3 separate regions of the Homo sapiens genome follow, and regions 2 and 3 are each linked to region 1. Evidence: promoter capture Hi-C in human tissues and cell types (Jung and others, 2019). All regions are on one chromosome and are shown on one strand. Each heading gives the region's core, a stretch centred on a gene start or on the middle of the fragment in contact. The rest is flanking DNA. Distances are from core to core; before and after follow the strand shown. Region 1 holds the start of HIF3A (hypoxia inducible factor 3 subunit alpha). Region 2 has its middle 6.3 kb from the start of IGFL3. Region 3 has its middle 48 kb from the start of PNMA8B.

What was found. The method cuts DNA at HindIII sites, captures the fragments that hold promoters and counts their contacts. A contact is called where the count stands out against the background at its distance.
Region 2: a fragment that was not itself captured here is called in contact with the fragment with the promoter of HIF3A in region 1 in 5 of the 25 tissues and cell types used here (IMR-90 fibroblasts, dorsolateral prefrontal cortex, liver and 2 more).
Region 3: a contact is called between a fragment that was not itself captured here and the fragment with the promoter of HIF3A in region 1, in 1 of the 25 tissues and cell types used here (aorta).

What each region holds. Positions count from the first base shown.
Region 1 is chr19:46,295,337-46,298,373 of GRCh38, reverse strand. HIF3A (hypoxia inducible factor 3 subunit alpha) reads right to left here and starts at 1,332. Exons shown (of 15, transcript NM_152795.4): 1 at 1,272-1,332. The coding sequence starts at 1,297. The HindIII fragment of the contact is 13,814 bases long and covers 1-3,037 here.
Region 2 is chr19:46,129,467-46,132,555 of GRCh38, reverse strand. It overlaps a transcript of IGFL2 not described here. Among named protein-coding and RNA genes, the nearest start is that of IGFL3, 6.3 kb to the right of the region's middle. The HindIII fragment of the contact is 6,419 bases long and covers 1-3,089 here.
Region 3 is chr19:46,542,647-46,545,397 of GRCh38, reverse strand. It overlaps the pseudogene PPP5D1P. Among named protein-coding and RNA genes, the nearest start is that of PNMA8B, 48 kb to the right of the region's middle. The HindIII fragment of the contact is 3,360 bases long and covers 1-2,751 here.

The DNA.
Region 1 (3,037 bases), core at 83-2,582:
GGAGGGGGGGCACCCGAGCTCAGCCAAGAGGGGCCCCCACCCAGCCAGGAGGGGGCGCTGAGAGGGGCGGAACGACAGCTGGCCCAAAAGGGGTGGGATAGAGTTCCTTGTTAGGCCCAGAGCCAGGGCCTGGAATAGAGTAGGGGACAGGGGAGAGGATGGGGGCGGTTAGAAACATGGGGTGTGCATGGATCCAATCAGGCCTGAGAAGCCAGGGAGGAGGGAAGGGGGTGAGGCTTACTGGGTGCCTCACATTGGACAGGGAAAGCTGAGGACCTAGAACATTTTCCAGGGTCCCATGGGAACATGGCCAGATAAAACCCCCCGGCAGCGGCCCCAGGGCACAGGTTCCCCTGTGTTCCAGCAGAGCTGCACCTGCTGGGCAAGTGAACCCAGAAACCCACCCTCTGCCCGGGATGACCCCATCTGAGTACTGCGGCAGGGGGCGTTCCCATCACAGCCTGCAGGCTCACAGCACCCTGCCATGGAGTCTCCCCAAAATAAAGCTTGGATGAGGCTCCCCTGTCTCTCAGGATGGGGGTGCAGGGGTGAGATGAGGGGCTGGACTTTGGGAAGTGGGTCCAGCTTGTTTCCCTGTTATTTAAGGGGGTGACTCTGGCTTTTGAAAGGATACAAAAAGTCTCTTGGGAAGGGTCCCAGACGGCTTCTGAAAGGGGCTCCCCTCTGCCCATTTCTAGGGAAACCCAATGTTTAGGAGACTGTGTCAGGAAGCATACTATTAGAGGAGATCTCTCCTCTCTTGAACTCAGGAGCTGAATGCCATTCCAAGGGACTCCCTATATGTGGGAAGGCTCCATTTAGGGGTATCCCATATCACCTAGGATCCCAGGCACCTGGTGGCAAAGAATACCCTCAATTTTGGGGGGTTCAGAGGCCAGAGGGATCAATATGTGGAGGGCGAATATCTCCCGCAGAAGCCTGGGGACTGCTCAAATGCAATCACCCCTAATTTATCAGGAATCCCAAGTTCCACCCCCAACCAGGAGGGTAAATGAGCCTTGGGTAGCGAGAAATCGGGAACCCCGAAGCCGCTCTTGGCCAGAGGGGCGGGGCAGCCAGAGACGTAGGGAATCCCCCACCCCTGCAGTCCCTAAGGGTGGAGAGTGCGGTGGGGATGTGCCTCCAACTGCGCGCCCCGGGGCGTTCTTGGCTCGCACCCGCGAACCCCACCCCCCCCAACAATCCAGCTCAGGGGTCTCCAGGAGGAGAGCCCCCCAATTCCCAGAACTCCTGCCCCCGAACTTCAGTACCTTGCGCGCTGCAGCCCCAGCGCCATGGCTCGCCAGTCGCCGCTCCGGAGCCCTCGGAGGCCCCTAGCCCCCTCCCCGGCCTTGCGAGCCCCCTCCCCAGCTCCTCCCCACGCCGCGCGGTTGGCTGTGCCACGCCAGGCCTGAGGCTCTGATTGGGCAACGGTATGTCACTCCTGAAAAGGAGGCGGAACCAGAGGGAAAGACTTGGAAAGGCAAGGGGGGGATACCGTGTAATACACACCCCCCAACCACGCCCCTCGCCGCGGACTTCCTCGGCAGTGTATCCCGCACCGTCGGCTGAACGCGCCTTCTCTAGTCCAGCCTCTGAAGTGCCAACGCCAGTACTCTTCTGAACCCACTCAGTTCACTCTGCTCTCTGGACCCCAGTCCCCAGCCTCTAACCCCCACCTCTTCTCACCTTTCCATTTCCTAACCCCAGTTGAGCCCCTCTGACCTCCAATCCCACCCCTTCCAAACCCCTAGCCCTGCCTTCTCTATCCCTTCTAAGGTATTCACAGAGTACCCCACATCTCCTCCCCACCCCCCAACTCCCAACCCCACCCCAGTTCCACAATCCTTGGCCCTCTGGCACCTACCCTTCTCTCTCTCTCCCCAGCCCCTCCCTGCCACCCCAGTCCCATACCCCACTTCGCCCCCATTCCTCCAGTCTGCACCCTCTGCACCCCAGCTTACCTTCCCTACCCCCTCTACTCCACCCTAACCTCTTGGCCTCTCTGACTCCCTTTTCAGGTTCCCATTGATGAATAATTAAGCTTATGTCAAGTAAATATGTTTTAACTCAATCACACCTACTTCAAAAAAGAGCCGAGAAATGTATTTTTTTTTAACTAGTCGACTATGAAGGGAGAAGTACAAAGGTACCAAGCAAGGGTGAAAGCATTACAGTTGGATAAGGAACAGAGTGTGTGTGTGTGTGTGTGTGTGTGTGTGTGTTGGACCACTATTCTGGATTTGGTTGGCAGGGAAGAGGATACTACAGCAGAAGTGGCCTTGTTGAACCTTGAACTTGCCAGGCAAGTTGCTCACCTTAGGGCCTTTGCACTTGCTGTTCCCACAGCTTAGCACACTCTTCCTCCAGGAATCCACACGGCTCCCCGGCTCACGCCAGTTCCCCACTCTGTTTTCTTTTGGGAAACCACTTCTCTGTCCTCTTCATCTATTTAATTTGAATAGGGCTTGGCCACTGCTCTGCCTTCACCAGCTCCAGGGATGGACATAGGATCCAAACCTGGCTAATCAGTTGAGTCTGCTTCCCTGGCCACAGTGATTGGTTCAGGGAAGGCATGTTACCTAATTTAGCCCAATGAGAATCAACCCTGAGACATTTGCTGAAACCATTAGGAAAGAGGATTTTCTATGTCTGCTGGAATTGCTGGGCAGATGGAGCAGATGGGGCTCACACTGCCACAAAGAGAGGAGAGGCTTTATGAGATGAGGTTCAGTGCAAAAGAGATTGTGCAGAAATGAACGATTGTGAAAGGCAGTTTTGACACCAGCACTTGAGTGCCTGGATCCAGCCATACCTGAACTCCAGTTTAATTCTTGGATTTTTCAAATGAAACCCACAATGGGCTTTTTTTTTTTTTTTTTTTTTTTTTTGCTGTTGCTTTTGTCAAATATTGCTTCATTCACTATTGCCTTATTTGCTTTGTGCTTAGATTCGTTTGAATGGATTTTAGATACTTGCACCCAAAAGAATCTTGATAGAGAAATCAGCTTTCAACCCTCAGTGTAGAGGCAGGTGG
Region 2 (3,089 bases), core at 172-2,671, 170 kb after region 1:
TGCCACACCATGTGAGGAGGGGAAGCCTGTGGACTTTTCTGTCATCTGTCTGTTTGGGTGTGTGAGTCTATCAACTTTGGGTGCTGGCTTTTTAAGGAGAGAACTGACAGCACGTGGAACCAAAGTTTGTGTCACTTATGTCCCAATGAATTGTTTTCTTTCTGTGCATTTAATTCAATATCTTATTTTCCCATGCAACCCACTGGTTGGCCTCTTGTAAAAAGGAGAGACTTTTGCCTATGGTTCCATGAAATGGAAAGGGATCATTTTCTTTTGTAACGTGGCTTGGCCCCCACAGCTATGCCACAGGGAGCAAGGTCACCAAAGTTGCTCAGAAAAAGAGAACCCAAAACCGTAGCATGCCAGCAAAAGGGTAAGAATTTCTTACCAGCCAGGCTTCTGGACTTTCTCTGTGTGTGTGTGAAAACTGGTTAAGTGAATGACAAAATTCACTGTTTCCCTCCTCTGCAAGGCTTTAACCCATTTCCTGTTGGCCAAGAATATTCTTATCTTTAATACTAATGTAAAATCATATACATTTCTGCTACGTTAATACTAGAGACAAGTTCTGTTTAGAAACAACTCCAAGAACAGTTTTGTTTTTGTTGTTGTTGTTTGAGAGGGAGTCTCGCTCTGCTCCCCAGGCTGGAGTGCAGTAGCATAATATTGGCTCACTGCAACCTCCACCTCCTGGGTTCAAGCGACTCTCCCACTTCAGCCTCCCGAGTAGCTGAGACTACAAGCATAGGCCACCATGCCCGGCTAACTTTTGTATTTTTAGTAGAGACAGGGTTTCACCATATTAGCCAGGCTGGTCTTAAACTCCTGGCCTCAAGTGATCTGCCTGCTTCAGCCACCCAAAGTGCTGCGATTACAGGCATGAGCCAAGAAGGGGTTTTTATGTTTTATTTTCACACTGAAAATCAGTCATATTCGCTTCAGCCTCGAAGAGCATGTTTACGTAAAATTAAATGGGTGTTGACAGCAAACTAGACCTAATAAAAAAAGAAGTCGATAAACCTCTGAGACAGAAAGTATTAAAACATTAGAATGCTCATGCTTTCCAAAGCCAAACAATGTTTACAAAAAAATTTCATCTGAATTCCCATTTTTAAATTTTGCTATTTTTTAGGAGGAGGGTTTAGAAAATTACTTGGGAGCTCTTAAAGCTGACTGCACAAATATTGTCGAGTAAAGCTTAATGTAGTGTAATAAGGAGAGAAGTTTTTGTCTATTATTAAAATTTAAAACAAAGCTACTGTAAATGAACCAGACACTACCTAGAAAAATTACACATAAATCAATTGAACAGAGTCCATCAACAGATAAAGCTAATAATGGAAAACTGAGATATAAGAAAAGTAACATTGTACATTAGAAGAAAAGGGATGAAACTAGTCAACAAGTAATTTCAGATTCAATAGGACATTCATTAGCAAGAAAATTAACTTAGACTCAGCATCACATCTTATAGAAAAAGTTATATGTGAATAAAAATGACTAAAAAGAAAGTAAAAATATAGAACTATTCATAGAACTTTAAGTTGGAGATGGCCTCCTTACGTAAGCGGAAGCCAAAAAGTGGAAAGAAGATGTAGGGCAGTGGTAAAAGACACTGCTGCATAAAAATTTAAAATATCTCAAAAAAGAAGACTCCACCAGCATTACTGAGAAACAAACACAAAGGCGAGGAAAACATATAACAGACAAAAGGTTAGTATCTCCCATATAAAAAGAGCATTTATAAATTAATAAGAAGGAAGCAAACAACCCAAAACAATTATTCTGAATAGTGTATCATTTACAGAAAAGGAACTATACATCATTAAACATAAAAATAATGAGAAATACTGGGAACCTTCATCCAAGCTCATAAATTTCTTCTAATCTTAGTTCTTGCTCACTTTATTTTTTAATTTGGAACCTACCAAAGATAATAAATTCCTCTTTTTGCCACAGCTTAAGCTAGTTTAAACTGGCAAGCAACCACTTGCAAGTAACCAGTTTATAAACATAATGAAAAGGTGCTTCCAAGAACCTCAATAAACAGCATGTAGACAAACAAATGCCATATTTTAAATAACATGGTATGTTCTTTAACTCATCATCTGATGCTTGCTGGGGGAACTAAAATATTTATCAAAACTCTAAAGAAGTTATTGCCCTGTGAGATAATGAAAAAGGCTGTTTCATAGGAAACGTGTACTTCACCCACTTAGTTCAGGAGATCATACCCTGTAGTATTTGGTTTAAATAAACAGTGAACCTGAACCCTTGAAACTGCATGCAGTCCATCTCACATGCAATTACACCCACAGGCTCAAAATAAAGGGATGGAGGAAAATCTACCAAGCAAATGGAAAACAGAAAAAAGCAGGAGTTGCAATCCTAATCTCAGATGACTTTAAACCAACAAAGATAAAAAAAGACAAAGAAGGGTATTATGTAATAGTAAAGGGTTCAATTCAACAAGAAGGCCTAACTATCCTAAATACATATGCACCCAACACAAGAGCACCCAGATTCAGAGAGCAAGCTCTTTGAGACCTTCAAAGAGATCTAGACATCCATACAATAATAGTGGGAAACTTCAATACCTCACTGACAGTATTAGACAGATCATCAGGTCAGAAAATTAACAAAGATATTCAGGACCTGAACTCAGCACTGGATCAAATGGGCCTGATAGACATCTGCAGAACTCTCCACACAAAAGCAATAGAATATACATTCTTCTCACCACCACATGGCACACATTGAAAAATCGACCACATAATCAGACACGAAACACTCCTCAGCAAACACAAAAGAACCGAAATCATAACAACCACTCTCTCAGACCATAGCACAATCAAATTAGAAATCAAGACTAAGGAATTTGCTCAAAACCATACAATTACATGGAAATTGAATAACCTGCCCCTGAATGACTTTGGGGTAAATAATGAAATTGAGGCAGAAATCAAGAAGCTATTTGAAACCAATGAGAACAAAGATACAATATACCAGAATCTCTGGAACACAGCTAAGGCAGGAGTAAGAGGGAAATTTATAGTACTAATTGCCCACTTCAGAGAGTCAGAACTCAG
Region 3 (2,751 bases), core at 155-2,654, 250 kb before region 1:
TGCCACCTCTGCCTCCTGGGTTCAAGCGATTCTCCTCCCTCAGCCTCCTGAGTAGCTGGGATTACAGGTGCCTGCCACCATGCCCAGCTGATTTTTGTATTTTTAGCAGAGATGGGGTTTCACCATGTTGGCTAGGTTGGTCTTGAACTCCTGACCTCAAGTGAGCCTGCCTCGGCCTCCCAAAGTGCTGGGATTATAGGCACGAGCCACCACACATGACTCAAAGGCTAAACTCTTGAGAGTGGGCCATGCTGCCCCAAGAAGCTCCACTGGATTTATTTGAAGGTCCTTGCCAAATCAGTTGGGGAAAAAAAGGCAGATTCAGCCCATGGATCCTTAAGTACCACTCGAAGAGTGGCATGCTTTTCCCAAATGTCACCTTTTGTCTTTAAGGCAAAGGTGGTGCCAGATCTTCAGCTCTCATGTCTCCTGCACAAACTCTCCCAGGCGTGAGAAGAGACTCCACTCTGCAGAAACTCTGTCTCTAAGGGGGAAGTGACAGTCAGAGAAGGGAACAGGGATATTACTGAGGCCAGAAGGCCCCTCTCCCCTCAGTGAGGCCCACGCTCGTGCCCAAAGCCTGTCTGTCTTCCTAAATAATGCAGTGTGGAAGAGTAGAGGCTTTGCAGCCAAGCAGACAGGATTTCATAACCCTGGTTCCAGTACTTCCCAGTGTGTGATCTTGGACCATCAACTGGGCCTCTGAACCTCAATCTCCTCCTCTATAAAAGTGGCACAATGGCCGCAGGCGGTGGCTCACGCCTGTAATCCCAGCATTTTGGGAGGCCGAGGTGGGCGGATCACTTGAGGTCAGGAGTTTGAGACCAGCCTGGCCAACGTGGCGAAACACTGTCTCTACTAAAAATACAAAAATTAGCCGGGCGTGGTGGTGGGCACCTGTAATCTCAGCTATTCAGGAGGCTGAGGCAGGAGAATCACTTGAACCCAGGAGGCGGAGGTTGCAGTGAGCCGAGATAGTGCCATTGCACTCCAGCCTGGGCAACAAGAGCAGAACTCTATCTCAAATAAAACCCAGAAAACCAAAAAAAAAAAAAAAAAAAAAAACCCAAAACAAAACAAAAAGAAAAAACAAAAACAACAACAACAAAAAATGGCACAGTAATAGCTTAATTCCCAAGCTTGTTCAGGATTTTGTGGGTCAGGAATGTGAAAAGGGTTTGACTGGATGTTCATTTCTGTTCCACGTGGCATCATGTGATGAGGGCTGGAGGACCCACCTCCAAGATGGCTTCTTCACTCCCATGTCTGGAAGCTTCAATTCTCCTGGGCCTTCTCACAGCTCCATGCTCTTAGGGGAGCTGCAATTCTTTTTTTATTATTTATTTATTTATTTATTTGAGACGGAGTTTCGCTCTGTCGCCTAGGCTGGAGTGCAGTGGCCGCGATCTGGGCTCACTGAAAGCTCCACCTCCTGGGTTCACACCATTCTCTTGCCTCAGTCTCCCGAGTAGCTGGGACTGCAGGCGCCTGCCACCACGCCCGGCTAATTTTTGTATTTTTAGTAGAGACGGGGTTTCACCGTGTTAGCCAGGATGGTCACGATCTCCTGACCTCGTGATCCGCCGCCTTGGCCTCCCAAAGTGCTGGGATTACAGGCGTGAGCCACCGCGCCCGGCTGGGGAGTTGCAATTCTTACACAGTAGCCTGGGAGCCAAAGAGATCACGACGGAATCTGCTGGTTCCCTTAAAATGTAGATCCAGGCCTGGCGGTGTCACTTGTTTGTTTGTTTGTTTGTTTGTTTAGACAGGGTCTCGTTCTGTCACCCAGGCTGGAGTGCAGCGGCGCCATCATAGCTCACCGCAGCCTCTACCTCCTAGGCTCAAGGGATCCTCTTGCCTCAGCCTCCCGAGTAGCTGGGACTACAGGTGCGGGCCACCACGCCAGCCTATTTTTAAAAGTTATATTTTTGGCCGGGAGTGGTGGCTCACGCCTGTAATCCCAACAGTTTGGGAGGCGGAGGTGGGTGGAAGTCGGGAGTTCAAGACCAGCCTGACCAACATGGATATACCCTGTCTCTACTAAAAATACAAAATTAGCCACGTGCGGTGGCGGACCCCTGTCATTCCAGCTACTCGGGAGGCTGAGGCAGGAGAATCGCTTGAACCCAGGAGGCGGAGTCTGTGGTGAGCCGAGATCACGCCATTGCACTCCAGCCTGGGCGACAAGAGCGAAACTCCGTCTCACAACAAAACAAAAAAGTTATTTTTAGTAGAGTTGGGGTCTTTCTGTGTTGCCCAGGTTGGTCTTGCAGTCTTGGGATCAAGCGATCCGCCCACCTCTGCTTCTCGGTGTTGGAATTACAGGCGTGAGCCGCCATGCCCAGCACAGTGTCACATCTGTCATATTCTATGGGTCAAAGCAGTCAAGGGTTCTTTCTCAATCAGACTAAGACCAACAGGAACAAGCTTATTGTATTAATTTGCTAGGGCAGCCTTAACAGACAAGAAGGGAGGTGAGTCGCCTTTTAGTTTAAGTAGATACGGTCATGCTATTCTCTAATTGGCCACCAGATGGCGCGCTGGACTTACTATTAGTACAGTTTGTAATTGCCCTTCCGAGAGTGGCCACCGCCACTCAAGCGACTGGACACTGGACTAAGTGCTTCTGTTAATTTGGATAAGACAAGACTCTCACTTTCTTTGATAAAATATAAATCTAGAAGAGCCCTAGGCTTTTATTGCATCATGATCATGGAAGGAGAGAAATGATCCTTTTCTGATTTGCCAGAG